7 separate regions of the Homo sapiens genome follow, and all the other regions are linked to region 6. The links are contacts of gene promoters, found by promoter capture Hi-C in blood cells and fetal thymus (Javierre and others, 2016). All regions are on one chromosome and are shown on one strand. The core of a region is centred on a gene start or on the middle of the fragment in contact, and the rest is flanking DNA. Distances in the headings are between cores, read along the strand shown. Region 1 overlaps LINC00649 (long intergenic non-protein coding RNA 649). Region 2 overlaps ATP5PO (ATP synthase peripheral stalk subunit OSCP). Region 3 overlaps CLIC6 (chloride intracellular channel 6). Region 4 holds the start of MRPS6 (mitochondrial ribosomal protein S6). Region 5 overlaps LINC00649 (long intergenic non-protein coding RNA 649). Region 6 holds the start of KCNE2 (potassium voltage-gated channel subfamily E regulatory subunit 2). Region 7 overlaps LOC105372790 (a long non-coding RNA gene).

Evidence for each region. Contacts are between HindIII fragments. The CHiCAGO score rates a contact against its expected background, and 5 or more counts as called.
Region 1: a contact is called between a fragment that was not itself captured here and the fragment with the promoter of KCNE2 in region 6, in 3 of 17 cell types (neutrophils, total B cells and naive B cells). The highest score is 8.0, in neutrophils.
Region 2: a contact is called between a fragment that was not itself captured here and the fragment with the promoter of KCNE2 in region 6, in 1 of 17 cell types (naive CD8 T cells). The highest score is 5.1, in naive CD8 T cells.
Region 3: a fragment that was not itself captured here is called in contact with the fragment with the promoter of KCNE2 in region 6 in 1 of 17 cell types (M2 macrophages); the score reaches 6.4 in M2 macrophages.
Region 4: a contact is called between the fragment with the promoter of MRPS6 here and the fragment with the promoter of KCNE2 in region 6, in 1 of 17 cell types (neutrophils). The highest score is 6.0, in neutrophils.
Region 5: a contact is called between a fragment that was not itself captured here and the fragment with the promoter of KCNE2 in region 6, in 3 of 17 cell types (naive CD8 T cells, total CD8 T cells and naive B cells). The highest score is 5.6, in naive CD8 T cells.
Region 7: a contact is called between a fragment that was not itself captured here and the fragment with the promoter of KCNE2 in region 6, in 1 of 17 cell types (non-activated CD4 T cells). The highest score is 5.4, in non-activated CD4 T cells.

The regions. Positions count from the first base shown.
Region 1 is chr21:33,939,259-33,941,958 of GRCh38, forward strand. All of the region lies in intron 1 of LINC00649 (long intergenic non-protein coding RNA 649), which reads left to right. Among named protein-coding and RNA genes, the nearest start is that of LINC00649, 9.5 kb to the left of the region's middle. The HindIII fragment of the contact is 3,719 bases long and covers 1-2,700 here.
Region 2 is chr21:33,900,879-33,903,578 of GRCh38, forward strand. ATP5PO (ATP synthase peripheral stalk subunit OSCP) reads right to left here. Exons shown (of 7, transcript NM_001697.3): 7 at 2,575-2,700. The coding sequence ends at 2,648. Among named protein-coding and RNA genes, the nearest start is that of ATP5PO, 14 kb to the right of the region's middle. RefSeq lists an enhancer at 903-1,498. The HindIII fragment of the contact is 694 bases long and covers 915-1,608 here.
Region 3 is chr21:34,670,719-34,673,418 of GRCh38, forward strand. CLIC6 (chloride intracellular channel 6) reads left to right here. Exons shown (of 6, transcript NM_053277.3): 1 at 1-44. Among named protein-coding and RNA genes, the nearest start is that of CLIC6, 3.1 kb to the left of the region's middle. The HindIII fragment of the contact is 1,714 bases long and covers 485-2,198 here.
Region 4 is chr21:34,072,291-34,074,990 of GRCh38, forward strand. MRPS6 (mitochondrial ribosomal protein S6) reads left to right here and starts at 1,288. Exons shown (of 3, transcript NM_032476.4): 1 at 1,288-1,455. The coding sequence starts at 1,411. SLC5A3 (solute carrier family 5 member 3) reads left to right here and starts at 1,288. Exons shown (of 2, transcript NM_006933.7): 1 at 1,288-1,455. RefSeq lists silencers at 736-1,255, 1,546-1,945 and an enhancer at 1,199-2,149. The HindIII fragment of the contact is 10,607 bases long and covers 1-1,986 here.
Region 5 is chr21:33,958,551-33,961,250 of GRCh38, forward strand. The region is part of intron 2 of LINC00649 (long intergenic non-protein coding RNA 649); the gene reads left to right. Among named protein-coding and RNA genes, the nearest start is that of LINC00649, 29 kb to the left of the region's middle. The HindIII fragment of the contact is 3,817 bases long and covers 1-2,700 here.
Region 6 is chr21:34,362,615-34,365,314 of GRCh38, forward strand. KCNE2 (potassium voltage-gated channel subfamily E regulatory subunit 2) reads left to right here and starts at 1,392. Exons shown (of 2, transcript NM_172201.2): 1 at 1,392-1,537. All of the region lies in intron 2 of LOC105372791 (a long non-coding RNA gene), which reads right to left. The HindIII fragment of the contact is 16,740 bases long and covers 1-2,700 here.
Region 7 is chr21:34,025,001-34,027,700 of GRCh38, forward strand. All of the region lies in intron 2 of LOC105372790 (a long non-coding RNA gene), which reads left to right. Among named protein-coding and RNA genes, the nearest start is that of MRPS6, 47 kb to the right of the region's middle. The HindIII fragment of the contact is 2,941 bases long and covers 1-2,700 here.

The DNA.
Region 1 (2,700 bases), core at 111-2,610, 420 kb before region 6:
TAGGAAAAGACAAGGACATCTAGAGTCATGTTGTAATCACAGTTCTGTGATATTTCATGTTTTTCTAACTCATAAAAATACAGTGAGGAAATCAACAGCTTGGACTGTGGGAAAAGAAGTAAAGCTGAAACTCTGATACGCACAGGCCTGAGTATGTTGTTTACAGAATGAAAAGCGAGTTCCACATAAGCTGAGACTTGGCTTCAGTCATGCCTGGGAATCTACAAACTCAATGCCCTCTCACTGGCAGAACATAAAAGCTAAAGATTACCCCTAATCCCGTGGCATTTTAAAATCCATGGAATGGGCTTTGGTGCTCAGCAATTTTCACTTAAAGTCACACACTCTTTTGGAGGTACAAATGTTTCAGTTCCCCCAGTAGTATCTCTGGTAAGACTTACCAGAATGAATATTGATGCAGATGAAGACACGATTGTTCTGTCCAGAAGTGATCACACTCCCCTTCACCCCCAAGTTCCACTTTTTAAACAATTCAAATAATGGAAGCTCATGTGACAGCTTTCTGCTGGTAAACCAGAGAATAAGATTCACTGCACTGGAAAAAAAGTGGAAACCACTCACATATTTATCAATGGATGCATGAGTAAACAATATCTGGCATATCCATACAATGGAATATTATTCAGCCATAAAAAGGAATGAAGTACTGACACATGCTACCACCCTGAAAAGATGATGCTGGCCGGGCGCAGTGGCTCACGCCTGTAAGCCCAGCACTTTGGGAGGCCAAGGTGGGTGGATCACCTGAGATCAGGAGTTCAAGACCAGCCCGGCCAACATGGTGAAACCCTGTCTCTACTAAAGATACAAAAAAAAAAAAAAAAAAAAAAATTAGCTGACCACGGTGGCAGGCGCCTGTGATCCCAGCTACTTCAGGAGGCCGAGGCAGGAGAATCACTTGAACCCAGGAGGCGGAGGTTGCAGTGAGCCGAGATCGTGACATGGCACTGCAGCCTGGGTGACGAGAGCAAAACTATGGCTCAAAAAGAAAAGAAAAGATGATGCTGAGTGAGAGAAGCCAGATGACACAAAAGTCTACTTGTATGATTCCATTTATATGACGTGTCAGCAGAAAAACAAACCCGTAGAGACAGAAAGCAGATGAGTGGTTTCCAGGGTCCGGGGAAGGGAAAAGGGAAGTGACTGCTAACGGGTAAGGCATTAGCTTTAGTTAGTTGATTTCTTTTTGGGGTGATGAATATTCTGGAATTAACGGTGATGGTTGCACAACTTTGTGACTATACTAAAAACACTAAATTGTATAGTTTCAGAGAGAAATTTTATAGTGTGTAAACTACATCTCAATTAAAAAAAAAAAAAGTAAAAAGAAAACGCTGCATAAGCCTCCCGTGGGGTTAAAATAAGAGTAAGAGAAAAAAACATGACTTCATTGTGTGGGTGCCTGTGTTGAAGATGATTTAGTAGCTTCTGCCGTGAGGCATTTGCTAGAATAAAATCCTTTCTGCCCTCATCATTGTCAGCACACTGGTTCGGGCCTTTAGCACTCCTACCTGGATCGTGGAACTAAAGAATTTTAGCAGCTGACAAGGACCTTAAAGATTGTAGCCTAACTCTCTCGCTTGTCAGGGGAGGCAGCTGGTGCCAGGCAGAAGAAGTGGCATGTTTGGAGTGGCCTGCCTGGTGTCTGAGCCACACCTGACACCCAGTGTTCTTTCCACTGGGCCTTTATTGCAATTGTTTTCCTCTCTCTTTAGTCTCTTCCTGCTCCAGTAGGATTGTACATTCCACTGACCTAATCTTCCCGAAATACAGATCTCATCACGTCACTGCCCTGCTGAAAAAACCCACAGTGGCTCCCCACTGCCTTCAGGCCCAGACCCCGGGAGCCTCCTTCACCTTCTGTCCACTTCTTGGCTCTCATGGCTTCCTAAACAAACTCCCTTTGCCACTGCAGCACATGGCGTGTGTCCCAATATCACGCTTCTGGGCACATGTTGTTAATCCACTTTGCATATGTTTATGTCTTTGTGGCTCAGCTAGATTGCAAGTTTCTCGGAGACCAGGATCATGCCTTTGACCTCCTGACACAGGGCACAGTGCAATTCCTTGTACTTGTTAGGGGTCTGGAAATATTTGTAGATTAGTTGATTTCATTCACAACCACAGCTAGTCTTCACCTGGTACACCTAAGAATATCTTGGAGGAGGCCGGTTGCGGTGGCTCATGCCTGTAATCCCAGCACTTTGGGAGGCTGAGGTGGGCGGATCACGAGGTCAGGAGATCGAGACCATCCTGGCCAACATGGCGAAACCCTGTCTCTACTAAAAATACAAAAAAAAAAAAACAAAAAATTAGCTGGGCGTGGTGGCATGCGCGTGTAGTCCCAGCTACTTGGGTGGCTGAGACAGGAGAATGGCTTGAACCATGGAGTTGGAGGTTGCAGTGAGTCGAGATCATGCCACAGCACTCCAGCCTGGTGACAGAGTGAGACTCCATCTCAAAAAAAGAAAAAAGAAAAAATCTTAGAGGAGTTCTGGCAACAGGTCACTGTTTTATGCTGCGTCTCTCATGAGTTTAACTTTTGGGTGTAATCTGGACAAGAAGATTCTCGAAACCTCCTATGAGATTGGATTTACTGTCAAAAAAGCAAAACACACTGACTTCAAAAGAAAAAAGCAAACATTATTTTTGAAACAACCTTTTAATTTCTTATAGAAG
Region 2 (2,700 bases), core at 12-2,511, 460 kb before region 6:
ACAAATGCAATAATTAACTTTCCCAACTATACCTAGTTCTCTCCAAGTCTGATGAGGGCCCCCTCACACAGACCAGAGAGTGGATGGAATCACTAGTACAAAACATGTAATTATTACCTATTTAACCACGGTTAGTAGCCAGCATAATCAAGGCAATACTTTTTATTCTCAAATATTTAGTTTTTCTTCTTGTTACAGAAGTAATACTTGTTAATGCAGAAAATTCAGCAAGGAAAGAAAAACACAAAGGAAATAAAATCACTTAATGGAGATGTTCTTCTACACAAAAATAAAGGTTTTGATGCACTTCATTTCTGTATTTTTTGTGTGTGTGTGCATTTTAAATACTCTTGTACTATTTATTTATTTATGAGACGGAGTCTTGCTCTTGTCACCCTGGCTGCGCTCGGCCTCTTGTACTATTTAATAGCTAATATGCATCGAAAATATCCCATATACAAGGGACTGTAAAACTTTCACCTTGATTTTAAAAAAATACTGTGAAGAAAATCATTGTAGGCTGGGTGTGGTGGCTCAAGCCTATAATCCCAGCACTTTGGGAGGCTGAGGCCAGTGATCACTTGAGCCCAGGAGTTTAAAGCCAGCCTGAGCATCATGGCAAGATCCTGTCTCTACTATAAATATGAAAACTAGCTGGGTGTGGTCGCACTGCCTCTAGTTTCACTGCCTGTAGTTTCAGCTGAGGTGGGAGGATGGTTTGAGCCCAGGAGGTTGAGGTTGCAGTGAGCCATGGTCGTGCCACTGCACTCCAGCCTGAGTGATGGCGTGAGACTGTCTCAAAAAACAAAACAAATCATTGTACATAGATCTCTAGGTTCTCTCTGGTGACCTCGTAAGGCGACATATGAAGGGCCTCATCATTCCCCAAGATTGTATGTGCTTGATCAACAGGAAGCTTGCTGAGTTTGACTCTGAAGGATCTGGGCAGCATCAGCAGCATGAGGCTCCCGCAAAGACGGTTTGTCCATTGGCAGTCACATGTCTGTAGGAGCTGTGATTGTGTGTATGACGCCACCTTCTGCAGAGCAGGCCTCACTGCAGGCAGGAGGCAGGCAGTGAGTCTGGGGGAACCTGGAATGTGGTCATGGTTAGGTTGCAGACTCAGCTGCGGAGACAGAACTCAATATCCCGTGGCTTTGAAGAGAGGTCTATTTCTTCATCGTGTTTAACAGCCCAGGGGCAGCAGTAAGGCTTGGCAGGGTGGCTCTGCCCTTGGCATCGCTTGCCATCTTGTCTGCATCTAGCTAGAGGGATGGACTAAGGATTGCTCAAGAGGGCAGTCCAGGAAGGCACACCTCGCTTCCTCTCCTTTCCCATTTGCCAGAACTCAGCACCAAGGTCAGGTGCTGCCAGAGGCTCAAGAATGTGGTCTCTAGCTGAGTAGCCCTAGGCCCACCTAAAAGGTGGCTGAATGGTCTTCGGGCCAGCCAGCAGCCTCAGCACTCCTGGTTCCTGGAAAGGTTGAGGGGCCTCAGCACTCCTGGTTCCTGGAAAGGTTGAGGGGCCTCAGCACTCCTGGTTCCTGGAAAGGCTGAGGGGCCACGTGGTGTCTCCGTTGGTTGTCACATTAGGTGATCATGTATTAAAAGCTTTGCCAGGAGGAAGCTGGAGTTGAAGCCAAGCATGAGTGTCAGGAGTGTTGTGCCACATGGAGGGCACGCCAGTCCCAGCACTAGCACATAGGGAGCAGCGCTGGGCCATGTCATTGCTCTGTAGGACTTCTTTGCTGCAATGGTCCTGCCTCTGCCCAACCAGGGGTGGTTCTGGGAAGGGAACTGGTTTGTTGGCCAAAAGTTCTTGGAGGTTGACTAAGGAACAGGCACCTGAGCGGGCTGTTGCGTGGGGAACTCTGTAACTATTTTCTCTAGAAGACCAAAAGGTAAAATGTAGTGGAAGAGCTGACCTGGGAACTGGTTTTGGTTAAAAGGTGAATTGGGAGCATCTTAGGGACAAAGCGGGAAGGGGCAGGGGACCTACCTAAGGTAACTTTTGCCCGTTTGCTCCAGCAACGTGTCGGCGCATGGTGTTAGTTATACAGTGGTAAAAACATGGGCTGTAGGGCCTGACACCAGCTGTCCAGACAGGTGACTCTGAGCACATCTCTAGGGCCCCTCAATCTCTTTCCTCATTTGTAAAGTGGGGTGATGTCTCTCCCACCCGTGTGACAAGGCTGTCATGCAGCTTCAGATGTACATGAAATGGCCTTGAAAGCTACAGAGCAGCCTACAACTAGGTGTGTTCATGTTAGGATCAAGGGCAAGAGGCCTCCCTGGAGGGCTATGGATCAAACACAGATCCGATGATCTAGTAGGGACCAGGAACTCTGAACAAACCCTTAAAGACACGGGATTTTGGCAGGCAGGACCAGATAGACTTTGCTGAGTGACCATGTGTTAGGTGCTGTGTCTAACCAATTAATTCCTAAACATAATCTACTCAAACCAAATTCTCTAGGCCAAAAGGGCTTTTTGGCCTTTATACTCAGGGGATACCAAAAAAGGACATAAAAATAAAGCCTTCTACATTCCAGTTTAAAAGACAGTGAACATAATATGATCTGTTCTGGAAGCTTTTTATTGTTGCTCCAAGTTTAAGAATTTTCACTGATGGCAGAAAACCAACACTTTTAGACAATCTCCCGCATAGCCCTGCCCAGCTTCTGAATCTTGGTCTTGACAG
Region 3 (2,700 bases), core at 92-2,591, 310 kb after region 6:
CCCGGGCCCTGGGGCAGGAGCACGACATCACCCTCTTCGTCAAGGTAAAGCTCGCTTCCCTCAATTCTTAGGACGACCCCCTTCCATTCGAGGTCTTGGTCATCTCAGATCCCAGAGGGACGCGCAGGGAGGAACCCTTGGTGGTATCCTGATTGTCATCAGGCGCTTCCATGCGCGGGCGGTAGGCGGGACAGCCGGGATTTCCCGGAGAAGAGTTTCCAGGGCATTTGCGGGAGGACTCAATGGTTTGGAAGCAAAGACTTTGGGGGTGGGGGCGACGGGGAGTGCGATGGGGGCCAATGAGGATGTGGGGTTGTGGGTTCAGCATCCCACTGTCCTTTGACCTGAACATCCTAACCAGCCCTCCTAGTCAGGAGGTTATTAACGAATTAACTAAAAAGTTAAAAAAAAAAAAAAAAAAAAAGAAGAAGAAGAAGAAAAGCAACGCACCCTATTGGTGTTCAAAGGGATTTCTGCCAAAGGAAGCTTTAATACTTGAAGCCAAAAAACGCAGACAGGTAGGTTCAATGTGGGAGGTGCCTTCCAGACTCAATCTCGGAGACCCAGAGCTGGTCAATGTTTTCAACTCCAAAAAGGTATTCCATTTTGGTAGAATCAACAATGTACGTTTAGGGGGGAATGGAGCCTTATTGACATAATGTTTTTTGAACGTTTTAACATTGAATTTGGAAGAATACAAGATGCCGGTGACTTGAACATCATCTGCTTGTATGTCATGTTTTTAACCTCAGTTCACATGGGAAGAGAGCAAGGATTCTGTGAAGGAATCTGTAGAGACACAACTGAGGAAGTTTTGAATTTAAACAGGAATTATTTACAAGGCATGAAAAATGAAAGAACAAAGCTCAGCAGCAGTTCACACCAGGATCTTTGTTTAAAAAGCCTTTTCTGAGGACCTTTGGCCAGACCCAGGAAAGTTGGAGATAATAAGGTCAAGAATGTGCATTTCATGTTGAATCATAATCCTTCAGAAATACTTCCAGGCTTATAGAAACCAGTTACCATCTAAATCTCTCTGGCTGAAATGCAAGCACATTTTAATAAGTAAAAGGAAATGCTCCCAATGTGATTAACATCAGAATTTTAAGAATTGTTTGGGTGGCGAGGGGCTTGGGAAAGAAGGGGTGTGTGTGTGTTTCTTCCCTAGTGAGAAGGTGCTGTTTCTGGCTTTTTTCAAGACCCTGGGACATAACCTCAGGACACCAGCCCCTGAGAGGCTGCTGGGAAGAGCTGGAGCGCAGTGCTGCTGTGTGACCCCAAATCTGCTCCTCTCCATCACCTTGGTTTTAGAAATTTCCCGTTGCTGTGGTTGTAAGGATACATGATTCTGGCACACGGCCTCTTAGCACAGTTTTGATGGACAGTAGCAGCTTCTGGCTAGTCTCCCTGTTTCAGTTCTCTGTCCTCTCCAATCTAGTCTCTTTGTAATAGCCAGTGAGCTGCGGACAAGATCTGATCATTTTATTTCTTTGTGTAAAATTCTTCAGTTGTTTATTGCAGAATTTCAGGTAAATCCCCACTCCTTAGGCAGCCCACAAGGCCCTTTGTGATGTTATTTCTGCCTTCTTTCTTTCTGGCCTTGGCATTGCTGGGTGTCCCCACCCTTTGTTACCTGTGGTCTCGCTATGCCACCTGGATTAAACTACTTACTGTTCCTTGAGGGAGCCACGTTCTTTCCTGCCTTGAAACTTTCTACATTATGTACCCTCTGTCTGAATGGAGTTTCTCCTCCTCGCCCCTGTCTGCCCTCCTGCCTAGTTATCTGCCACAAGTCCAAGAGTTAGCATGGATGTCATATCTTCCAGTCCCAGTCGGATGACCCTGTTAAGGCATTGCCCTCAGCCTGCTATGTCTCTTTCCTCAGCTGTGTGAAATTCATCATTCTATCTCCAGCGCAGAACACAGGTGTGGGATGTGGTGAAGGCTTGAATGGGCGGCTAGCTGCTGGATAGTGTGGTGATCAAGAACACGGACTTTAGAGCCAGTGGGTCTGGGATCAAATCTTGGCTTTGCTAATTTCTTGCCGTGTGACCTTGGGCAAGTTACTTAATCTTTTGGTATCATTGTGGTCTCATTGATAAAATGGGGACGGTAATAGTACCTAGCCCTTGAGGTTACCGTGAGAAATTGAGAATTAGATTACACAAAGCACTTAGAAAAGTGCCTGGCTGGAAATAAGCTTAGTACACATGTGAGTTCCTATTGTTACATCTGTGCTGCTCGCATAACTTGCACTGATTTTGCACAGAAACAGTTATCCCTGCCATTACTTATTTTATTTATTTTTAGGGAAAATCCCTCTAGGTACGTAATTACCTCCAATCTCTAGGGATAAGAATGTTGTGAAAAGTAAAAACAACTTGCTTCCTCAAATACTGCTTGGGAGGAGTTTGTGTGGGCAGAAGCATGTGGCCTAGCACCAGCAGCGGCCCAGCACGAGCAGCTTACCCACAATGCTTTATTCTGATGATTGATCTGGTGCTCAGTTGCTAACTTTTTTTTTTCTTAAGGAAACAGATAGATCTCCAAATGATGAGATTGGTTAACTTTTTTATTTTTTTTTTAATTGAGACAGGTTCTTGCTCTGTCACCCAGACAGGAGTGCAGTGGTGCTATCTCAGCTCACTGCAACCTCCACAGACTGGGTTCAAGTGATTCTTGTGTCTCAGCCTCCTGAGT
Region 4 (2,700 bases), core at 38-2,537, 290 kb before region 6:
AGATTCAGAAGCCTGACTAAAGTTTGGCCAAGCAAAGAATCTTTGTCACCTCAGGGCTGTTGTGAGAATTTTAGGAGACACATCCACCAGCCTTGGCATGGGGCCTGATGCAGAGTAAGTGTTCACTAAACTTTACCTATTAACGTTAAAGCACTTTAAGTTGACAAACACTCCACGTACAGAGCTTTTAATGGGGCAAACAAGGGGCAGAGGCCTCAGCTGCAGGGTACTCAACCTCTAAGGAAGGGCGCTGGAGAAAACTGCACTTGCAGAGCCCCTGGCTGGAGGGCGGAGAACCATGTGGGTGTAAAGGGATGGCAAGGGCAGAACGTATGCCCCTGCCCACCTTAGACAGTTGCTAAAGGGTCTCCCAGGCACTCAGCCTAGCCTTTAAGTGAAAGCGGAGGAAACATTTAAAGAAATGAGATAGAGTTAAGGTGTTCGCCTGCCCTCCGCTGAAACACGTGGGGGCAGGTCAGGGGCACACCACAAATGCCCGTATCGCGCCTGTGTGTACCAGGCACCGTCCTCGGAGGTTAACGTGCAGTAACTCACTCGGGTCCCCACTTTCGGCACAGGCAGCAGGCCCAAGGTCACGCAGTGCCAAGGGACTGAGTCAGACCCGAGCCCGCGCGCCGCGGCCCACGGCCTGTGCCAGCGCGCTCCTCGCCGGGTAGGGGGCCTGGTCAGCCGCGTCAGACCTGAGAGTTGTGGCTGGGGGCGAGAGCTGCACCCCCCTACCGACCCCGGGCGGGAATGTTCCAGAACCCCTGCGAGCAGCCGTTGGCCGCACAGCCCCCGGGCCGGCCGCGACCCCGCCTTGCGCCGCGAAGGTCCCTAGCTCCGGGGAGTCGCGGGCGAGGGGCACGCGCACGGACGAGACCGCACCGCAGCGCACGCGCACTGGCGGGCACTCACTCGCCCGCCGCCCGGGAGGAGAAGGAAGGCATGGAAAGTTCCAGCCGGTTCGAGAGCTAGGTAGCAGGCATGGCAGGAGGCGGGGTAGGGGCAGGCAGGGTCGCGAGGGGGCGTGCGGCCGCCGCGAGCCGCTCTGGGCCGCGTCTGCAGCACCGCCCCTAGCCGCGGCCGGCGGGCTGGGCTGGGGTCGGGGCGGGGGCGGTGCGGCGGGTGCGGGGCTGCGGAGGGGGCGTGGCGGCCGCCCGCGGGCGGAGAGGGGGCGGGGCGGCGGCAAGGCGCGCGGGCGGGGCGGGGCGCGCCGAGGGGGCGTGGCGCGGCGTCTGCGCAGCTGCCAGCGCCTTTAAGCCCGGGCTCGCGCTCTCGGACCGTGCTTTCGCCGCCTGGGAGCCGTCCGGCGCAGCAGTTTCTAGGTCCCCACTGTCCCCGCCGTCCCGCCCCTTCGCGTCCCGGGAACCGGCTGGCTTCCGAGCCGCACTCGCCGATCCTCCAGGCATGCCCCGCTACGAGCTGGCTTTAATCCTGAAAGCCATGCAGCGGGTAAGTGACCTTCCCTCAGAGCCGGTCTTCCCGCGCGGGCGCCCCCGCTGCCGCTAGGCCGCCGTCCCCCGCGCGCCCTGGCCGCGGGACCCCGGGCCTTCCTGCACTCCTCGGAGGAGGCCGGGGCGGCGGGCGGGCGGCGGGCGTCCGCGGGAAGGGGGCGCGCGTGGGCCGGCCGGGCCCGGCCGCGTGCGCGCGGGAGGCGGGGGTGTGCCTGCGCGTGTGCGCGGTCCGGGAGGGTGTGCCTCGCAAGCGGCCCGCCGGGCGGGGGGCGGGGCGGACCGAGCGGGCCCCGACCCCGATCCCGGCGCCGGCCCGCGGGAGTCCAGTGGAAGGTCCGCGGGAGGACACGCGCGGGCGCCCAGCCCGACTCCGGCCCGTCCCCGCCAGTCGTGAAGCTGCCTCGTCGCCGGCCCCGCCGCCGCCGCCTGGTCCGTCCCGCTCCGCCGCCCGCCGGCTGCCGCCGACCGCCTCCGCTCTAGCGCCCGCCGGCCGCCCGGAACGTCCGCGCCCAATAAAGCGTTCCTCCAAAGCTTGTTTGTGCCGTTGTCTGTATTCCAGTCTCTTGCAATCGCTCTCATGTTAAAAAAAAATCTTTTGACTTTTCTTTTTCTGACTTCAGCGAAAATCCCGCTCCGGGTGCCCTTAGCCCAGTTTCATTCATCCAAGTTGTGGCCTTTCTTGCGCCTCCAGAAGACACTTTCTTCCCCCTGCTTTTGATTGATCTTGAGGTAGGGGATTTCAGGTTTGGAGGGATGCTAAGCGAACCAGCGGCCCCTTTCAGGTGACGGCGTGGCCAAGGACAGGGGCCCGCGGCCCGGAGGCAGCTCACTTCGTCCTCTGTCCTGGGTCATGTACTCCTCAAGTCGTCGCCGAAATCCCCATTCTCCCGTGAATTCGGAATTCGGTAACGTAGTTTGGTGTTATGTTTTTTTTTCTCCACCAGGTGTAATAAAACAAAAATCATTGTACCACGTCCGAACTTTGTAAGCACAGCTTCCTACAGCGCTAGAGGAGTGGACGCATTTTTACGTTTGAAATTAGGCTCCAGGTCAATTGCGAGGAGTATTACCAAGTTTGGTTGAACTTAAGCTCAATTGATAAACTAACAATCACGGAGCGTCGGGAGATTGTTAGGAAGTGTGCTTTGCATATTGTTAACTGGGAAGGGACGCCAGTGCCTCTCTATGAGGTCCAGACAGCCTGGCCAGGCATGCCATTGTGTCCCCCAGCTTGTTCTTCATG
Region 5 (2,700 bases), core at 145-2,644, 400 kb before region 6:
TGAGGTAAAGGTAAACACCTTAAAATGGAAAGAAAAAAGTGTTTGGCAAAGAAATAGAAACTATTATAAAAGAATACAATACAACTTTTGAAAATGAAAATTGTAATATCTGAAAAACAAAACTCATTGAATGGGCTTAATAGCAGAATGGAGATGGCAGAGGAGTCAGTGAACTTGAAGATGTATCTATAAAAATTATCTGGTCTCAAGGACAGAGAGAAAAAATGATTGAAAAAAATTAATAGAATCTCAGTGGCCTGTGGTACAAGACCAAAAGGTCTGACATTCTTGTTCTTGTAGCACCAAAAGGAAAGAGAAAAGAGACTGGATTATGAAAAAAATATATATTTGAAGAATTAATAGCTGAAAATGTCTTACATTTCGGAAAAACATACATTTGTAGATTTAAGAAGCTCAGCAAGTCTCAAACAGAATAAACCAAAAGGAAATCATGTCCAGATGCATCACACACTGTTGAAAACCAGATATAATTGAAAAATCTTGAAAGCAGCCAGAAATAAGTAACACATTATATATAGGGGAACAAGGATTCATATGACTGAGTATTTCTCACCAGAAACCATGGAGGCTAGAAGACAGTAGAATAACATTTTTAAAGTGCTTAAAGAAAGGAGCTTTTAACCCAGAATTCTATATTCAGAAAAAATATCCTTCAGGAATGATGGTAAAATAAATACATTCTCAGATTAAGAAAAAGTGAGAGAATTCTTTGGTATTAAACCTGCTCTAAAATAAATGCTAAAGAGAGTCTTACAGGCTGAAGGTAAATGATACCAGAGGGAAACTTGAAACTTCAGGAATGAAGGAAGAGCAACAGAAATGGTAAATATTGAGCTAAATAAAATACCCTATTTTTATCCTTTTAAATTCTTTAAATATTTATGGCTGTTGAAGGCAAAAATCATAACATTGGTGAGGTTCTCAATGTATATAGATATAAACATATGACAGGTATAACATAAAGGGGGAGGGTAAAAGTATGTATATGTTTGTCAGGCTCCTACATTTTACTTTGAATTGGTAAAATAGTAACTTGAAGTAGACTGTAAAACACTAGGAATGCATATTGCAATATCTAGAACAGTCACTATACACACACACACACACACAAAGAGATATTGCCAAAAAAGGCAACAGATACATTAAAATGAAATACTAAAAACTTTAAGTAATTCAAAAGAAGGCAGGAACAATGGAACAGAACCAAAACACACAGAGGACAAACAGAAACCACATAATACAATAATAGACATAAATTCAACCATACCAATAATTACATTAAATGTAAATGAGCTAAACATACCACTAAAAAAACAGAGATTGTCAGATTGGATAAAAAAGAAGACTCAAATATAAGCTGTCTACAAAAAGCTAATTTAAATATGACATAGGTTAAAAAAGGAAACAATATAAAGCAAATATGATGAAATGATAGAACCAAGTGGTAGATACCTGTGAGTTAATTCTGTTACTTGCTATTATATTCTATATGTTTGAAATATTTATAATAATAATAAAAGGTGATTGGATGATTTTTTACATAAATATTCTAGTCCTCTAGGGAGGAAAAAGGAAAGATTGGTTAATAGATACAAGTTACAGTAAGATGGGAGGGATAAGTTCTAGTGTTCTACGGCATTTTAGGGTGAATATGGTTAACAATAATTAAATGTACATGTTCAAAAAGCTGGAAGAGAGGTTTTTTTTTTTTTGAGATAGAGTCTTACCCTGTCACCCAGGCTGGAGTGAAGTGGAGTGATCTCAGCTTACTGCAACCTCTGCCTCCTGAGTTTAAGCAATTCTTGTGCCTCAGCCTCTTGTGCCTCTGCAGCTCTGTAGCGATTCTTTTTTTTTTTATTTTTTGAGACAGAGTCTTGCTCTGTTGCCCAGGCTGGAGTGCAGTGGCATGATCTTGGCTCACTGCAATCTCCACCTCCTGGGTTCAAGAGATTCCCGTGTCTCAGCCTCCTGAGTAGCTGAGACTGCAGGCTTGCACCACCATGCCTGGCTAATTTTTTGTATTTCAATAGAGACAGGTTTCACCATGTTGGCCAGGATGGTCTTGATCTCCTGACCTTGTGAGCTCCTGACCTCGTGATCTCCCACCTCGGCCTCCCAAAGTGCTGGGATTATAGGCATGAGCCACTGTGCTCAGCCTAAAAGAGAGGATTTTGATTGTCTGCAACACAAAAAAATGATAAATGTTTGAGGTGATGGATATGCTAATTACCCTGATTGGATCATTATACATTGTACACATGTATCAAAATATCACTCTGTGTCCCATAAATATGTACAATTATTGCATATCAACTAAAAATAAAAAGAATCAATGCCCTTTAGATGGGTATATGAGATCTTTAGATGCCTGGCTCCAGACTGATGTCTCATCTTTTTCCTTCTAGTCCCTGGTGTGGGGCCAGAGCTTAGGATCTGGAATCAGACTTCTTAAACCCAAATTCTACTTCTTACCTGGTAATCACGTCCAAAGGACTTTAACTTTCTTAAACCTCAGAAGACTTCAACAGTAAAATAATTATAACATTGCCTAACTCTAAGGGTTTATTTTGAGGAATAAATGTAATATTGTACCTAAGTAATGGCAAAATGCTTGGCACATAGGACTTGTTTAACGAACATGAGCTGTTATTAGCTAGACTGATTCACCTGGCTGGAGTC
Region 6 (2,700 bases), core at 142-2,641:
CACTCCTAAATGATAGCCAATATAAAGACTCAGTTCTCCCAATTCCAAGGGTCCCCACCATGATAGAAAAGGATCTTTTGGTAAATAGAGTATGTTTAGCTCTTGCTAGGTCTTTAAATACTTTGCTGGGGGCCAGGCACCATGGCTCACACCTGTAATCCCACCGCCTTAGGAGACTGAGGCTGGAGGATCCTTTGCGGCCAAGAGTTTGAGACCAGCCTGGGCAACACAGCAAGACCCTATTTCTACAAAAATAAAAATAAAAATTAACCAGGCTTTGTACACACTTGTAGTCCCATTACTTGGGAGGCTGAGGCAGGAGGATCCCTCAAGCCCAAGAGTTCAAAGCTGTAGTGAGCTATGATTGCGCCACTGCACTCCAGCCTGGGTGACAGAGTAAGACTCTGTTTCAAAACAACAACAACAAACAAAAACCTCAAAACCTCTTTGTTGGACTTAACTTCCAGCTCCTCCATGTAGTACCTTAGTACCCTTGCAGCCCGTTTCTCTTTTACAAGACAACAATGTTGTTATAAACTCATTTGGATGTGGTCCCGTGGAGGAGTATTTACCAGAATCTAGCTTATTTAGCGTCTTCAGAACACGGCACTTGCCTGGAATTATACTGACCCCCTCAACCCATACCAACCACCCAGAGATGGCTGTTCTTGGCTCCTCTCCCTGGGGCCCTGTCCTTCCCACATCGTCTTCTTCTTCTTTCTTCTTCTTTCTTCTTCCTTCTTCTTCCTTCTTCTTCCTTCTTCTTCCTTCTTCTTCCTTCTTCCTCTTCCTCTTCCTCTTCTTCTTTCTTCTTTCATTGAGACAGAGTCTCACTCTGTCACCCAGCCTGGAGTGCCGTGGTATGATTTCAGCTCACTGTAACTTCTGCCTTGTGGATTCAAGTGATTCTCCTGCCTCAGCCTCCAGAGTAGCAGGGACTACAGGTGTGTGCCACCACACCTGGCTAATTTTTACATTTTTAAGTAGAGACGGGGTTTCACCATGTTGGCAAGGCTGGTCTTGAACTCCTGATCTCAGGTGATCTGCCCGCCTCAGCCTCCCAAAGTGCTGGGATTACAGGCGTGAGCCACCCCACCCAGCCCTTCCCACGTATTCTGGCAGGGAATGCTGTTGTCCCCCAAGCCTACCCTAAGAGGAAGACTTCTTCTGGGGAAAGATGTTCACTGTACCCAGGCCCTGCCCTGGCTGGAGCTGGCAGGAAGGGTCCCAGAGCAGGAACTTGTGCCACTCTGCCCAAAGCCAGAGTCCCTGAGGCACACACCCCATCAGGCACCAAGGTGAATTCCAACTGCCAGTTAGTATTTAACTTTCCACATACGATTAGATTAAACATGTGGGTTCATAAAAGCATAGGATTGCAGACTGCAGTTGCAAGGGCTTAGATGGTTGTAAGGTGAAGGTGCCCAGCAGGCTGAGGCTTGTGTGCAACCCAGAAGAGAGCTCGCTAACGCCAGCAAGAAGGTTCAGAACAGCCTGGCTTTGGAAAGGAATTTCATCCTGCCCACACACTGCATAGGTAAGTCTTAGCACACATTCTTTATTTTTTGAGGAATTAAGTAACAAAGTTATCTATGTGCCTTTTCCAGAAAATGATAAAAGGAATGATTTTCCTGGTACATGGCCTGGCTCCTCATCCACTCTTCCTTCTTTCCTTCTTGTGTTTTCCTTACTCATTTCTTTGTTAATTGCCTTAGAATGAAAATTTTGAGAGTTTTTAAAATGGAGGATTCATGGTAAACGTAGGTAATCATATTGTTTTCTCTTCTTGATATAAAAATGAAAGACTTTGCTGCCTTTTATAGGCCCAGGTGATGTGAGCGATCTACCATGTTTCAAGAAAAGAAAACTTTGGGGCTGGGCGCGGTGGCTCACGCCTGTAATCCCAGCACTTTGAGAGGCTGAGGCAGGCGGATCACCTGAGGTCAGGAGATCGAGACCAGCCTGGCCAACATAGTGAAACCCCATCTCTACTAAAAATACAAAAAAAATTAGCCTGGCGTGGTGGCTGGCGCCTGTAGTCCCAGCTACTCAGGAAGCTGAGGCAGGAGAACGGCATGAACCCGGGAGGTGGAGCTTGCAGTGAGCCGAGATCACGCCACTGCACTCCAGCCTGGGCGACAGAGTGAGACTCCATCTCAAAAAAAAAAAAAAGAAAGAAAAGAAAACTCTGGACTTTGGGGTCAAATGAGTGTTACTTTCCTAATAGTGTCCTGATTGCTGTTGTCATGAATAACACACATTCATGACAGGAATGGCTGGAATTAGGGGATCATTCTGTAGCCTGGAGACAGGGCACAACTAATGACATGTGTAAGCTCAAATCATGGTCTTGATCTTATGTCTTGTACCCAGTTGAGCCAACTGGTCACAGCAATGAAAACAGTGAGTTATTGGAATGTGTGACCTCTGCTAGGACAGTCAGTGCTGGACACTGGCTTGGGTGATGTGAGTTCTAGTCCAGGCACTGTGGCCAACTTGAGAGGCTTGTGATCTTGGACAGGTGACTTAAGCCCTCTAGGCTATAGTTATTCCACCTATCAGAGAGCAAACCAGCCTAAATGATCTCCAGGGGCCCAGCCTGTGCTAGGACTCAGCAAGAAGCATTCACTGGAAATGTAGGTCCTCCTAGGTTGATACACATGAATTGCCCATATTTGACCATTTCTAACCTATATAAAT
Region 7 (2,700 bases), core at 142-2,641, 340 kb before region 6:
TTGGAAGGGACAGGCCCTGACAGTTGATTGGCAGTGGGGAATGAAGGTGAGGGAAGCTCAGTGATCGGGTGGAGGCAATTCAAGTGACCTCATGGGTGGTGGTCCATTCATGGACATGGGGAAGACAGCAGCAGAAGCAAGTTTGGGATGAAGATGATGAGTTTTCAGTGTGGAACTTTTAGCTGAGTATGTTTTGTGAGCGTTTCTGTGTGAGTCAGTCTAGAAATGGCAACTGAAGCCATAGATGTTTGGAATTTTCCAGCTAAGAGAGAAAAGGAGTAGGCTTAGGAAAAGCCCCAGAAGACACTAATGGCAGAAGGATGGACAGAAGGAGAGAAGCCCAAGAAGGAATGTGGGAAAAAGATTTCGAGGGGGTCTAAGGAGGACCAGGAATAGATGGTATCGCAAGGAGAGAAGGGCTTGCCAGGTCAAGTTAGATATAAAAGTGTTATGGGTTTAAAATGTGTCCCCCAAAACGAAATGTGGAAGTTCTAATCTCTGGTACCTGTGACCTCATTTAGAGGTCATGAATTTGCAGATATAATCAAGTAAAGATGAGGTCATGCTAGATTAGGGTGGGCCCTAATCTTATAAAAAGAGGGAAATTTGGACACGGAGACACAAGCAAGGCAATGTGAAGACAGAGGCAGAGTTTGGCATGATGCCACCATAACCCGAGGAAAGCCAAGGAAGGAGGGCAACCACCAGGACTAGGAAGAGGCAGGGAAGTCTCCCTCCCGAGAGCCTTCAGAGGGAGCGTGGCCTTGTCAACACCATGATTTTAGACTTCTGGCCCCCAAACTGTGAGACAATATGTTTCTGCTGTTTCAAGCTACCTGGTTTGTGGTAATCTGTTATAGCAGTCCTACAAAACTAATACAGGAAGGGAAAGTATCCACAGATGTAGCAACAAGGAAGTCATAAGAAACCGTGGTAAAACTAGCTTCAGTCTAGCAGTGAGGGAGACTCAGACTGGAGAGGGTGGTAAAGCTAATGACAGGGGGAGAAATGGAGACCAGGTCTAAGCAAGTCTCCCCAAGCCTGGCTACGCAGGGAGAGAGAGAAGTCTACAGTAGCTAGAAGATGTCAATGAAATCTATCGAACGATCTACCAAATGATCTATCTATCTATCATCTATCTATCTATCTATCTATCTATCTATCTATCTATCTATCTATCATCTATCTATCTTGAGATTTTTTTTTTTTTTTTGAGACAGAGTCTCACTCTGTTTCCCAGGCTGGAGTGCAGTGGTGTGATGTCAGCTCACTGCAACCTTCTCCACCTCCCGGGTTCAAGCAATTCTCATGCCTCAGCCTCGTGAGTAGCTGGGAATTACAGGCACACACCACCTTGCCCAGCTAATTTTTTGTATTTTAGTAGAGACGGGGTTTCACCATGTTGCCCAGGCTGGTCTCAAACTCCTGAGCTCAGGCAATCTGCCCACCTCGGCCTCCTAAAGTGCTAGGATTACAGGTATGAGCCACCATGCCCAGCCCTCTCCTCTATCGATATCTATCTATCTATCTATCTATCTATCTATCTATCTATCTATCTATCTTCTATTTATATCTATCTATCTATCTATCTTCTATTTATATCTATCTATCTATCTATCTATCTATCTATCTATCTATCTATCTATCTATCTTCTATTTATATCTATCTATCTATCTTCTATTTATATCTATCTATCTATCTATCTATCTAATCTATCTATCTACCTACCTATGTATCTATAATCTATCTATCTATCCATCCCTCTAACTACCTACCTATTTTAAGTAACTAATTAACATATCCATCACCTTACATAGTTACTATTTGTGTCTGTTTTTAAGTGGTGAGAACACTTAATGATCAACTCTCTTAGCAAATTTAGCATATTCAATACAGTATTACTCACTATAGTCACTATGCTGCACATTAGCTCCCCAGAATGCACTGCTCCTCTATAACTGGAACTTTGTACCCTTTGACCAATATTTCTCCATTTCTCCCACTGCCCCCTCAGCCCCTGACAACCAGCATGCTACTCTCTGCTTTTATCAGTTGCACTTTTCTTTTGGTTGTTTTTGAGACGGAGTCTCCCTCTGTCACCCAGGCTGGAGTGCAGTGACGCGATGTCGGCTCACTGCTACCTCCGCCTCCCGGTTTCAAGCGACTCTCCTGTCTCAGCCTCCCGAGTAGCTGGGAGTACAGGTGCATGCCACCACGCCCAGCTAATTTTTGTATCTTTAGTAGAGACCGGGTTTCACCATGTTGGTCAGGCTGGTCTCGAATTCCTGGCATCAGGTGATCCTCGGCCTCCCAAAGTGCTGGGATTACAGGCGTGGGCATGCCGGCAATGAGTTCCACTTTTTTTTAGACGTAAGTGAGATCATGTCATATTTATCCTTCTGTGTCTGGCTTATTTCACTTAGCGCAATATCTTCCAGACTTATCTGTTGTTCAAAATGTTGGGATTTCCTTCTCTTTTTAAGGCTGAATAATATTCCAGTGTATTCGTATGTGACATGTATGTATCATATGTTCTTTATCTACTTATCTGTTGATGGACACTTAGTTTAATTTCATGTCTTGGCTATTGTGAATAATACTGCAATAAACATGGGGGTGCATATGCATCTTCAAGATATTGATTTCATTTCTTTTGGATATATCCCTAGAAGTGGGATTGCTGGATCATATAATAGTTC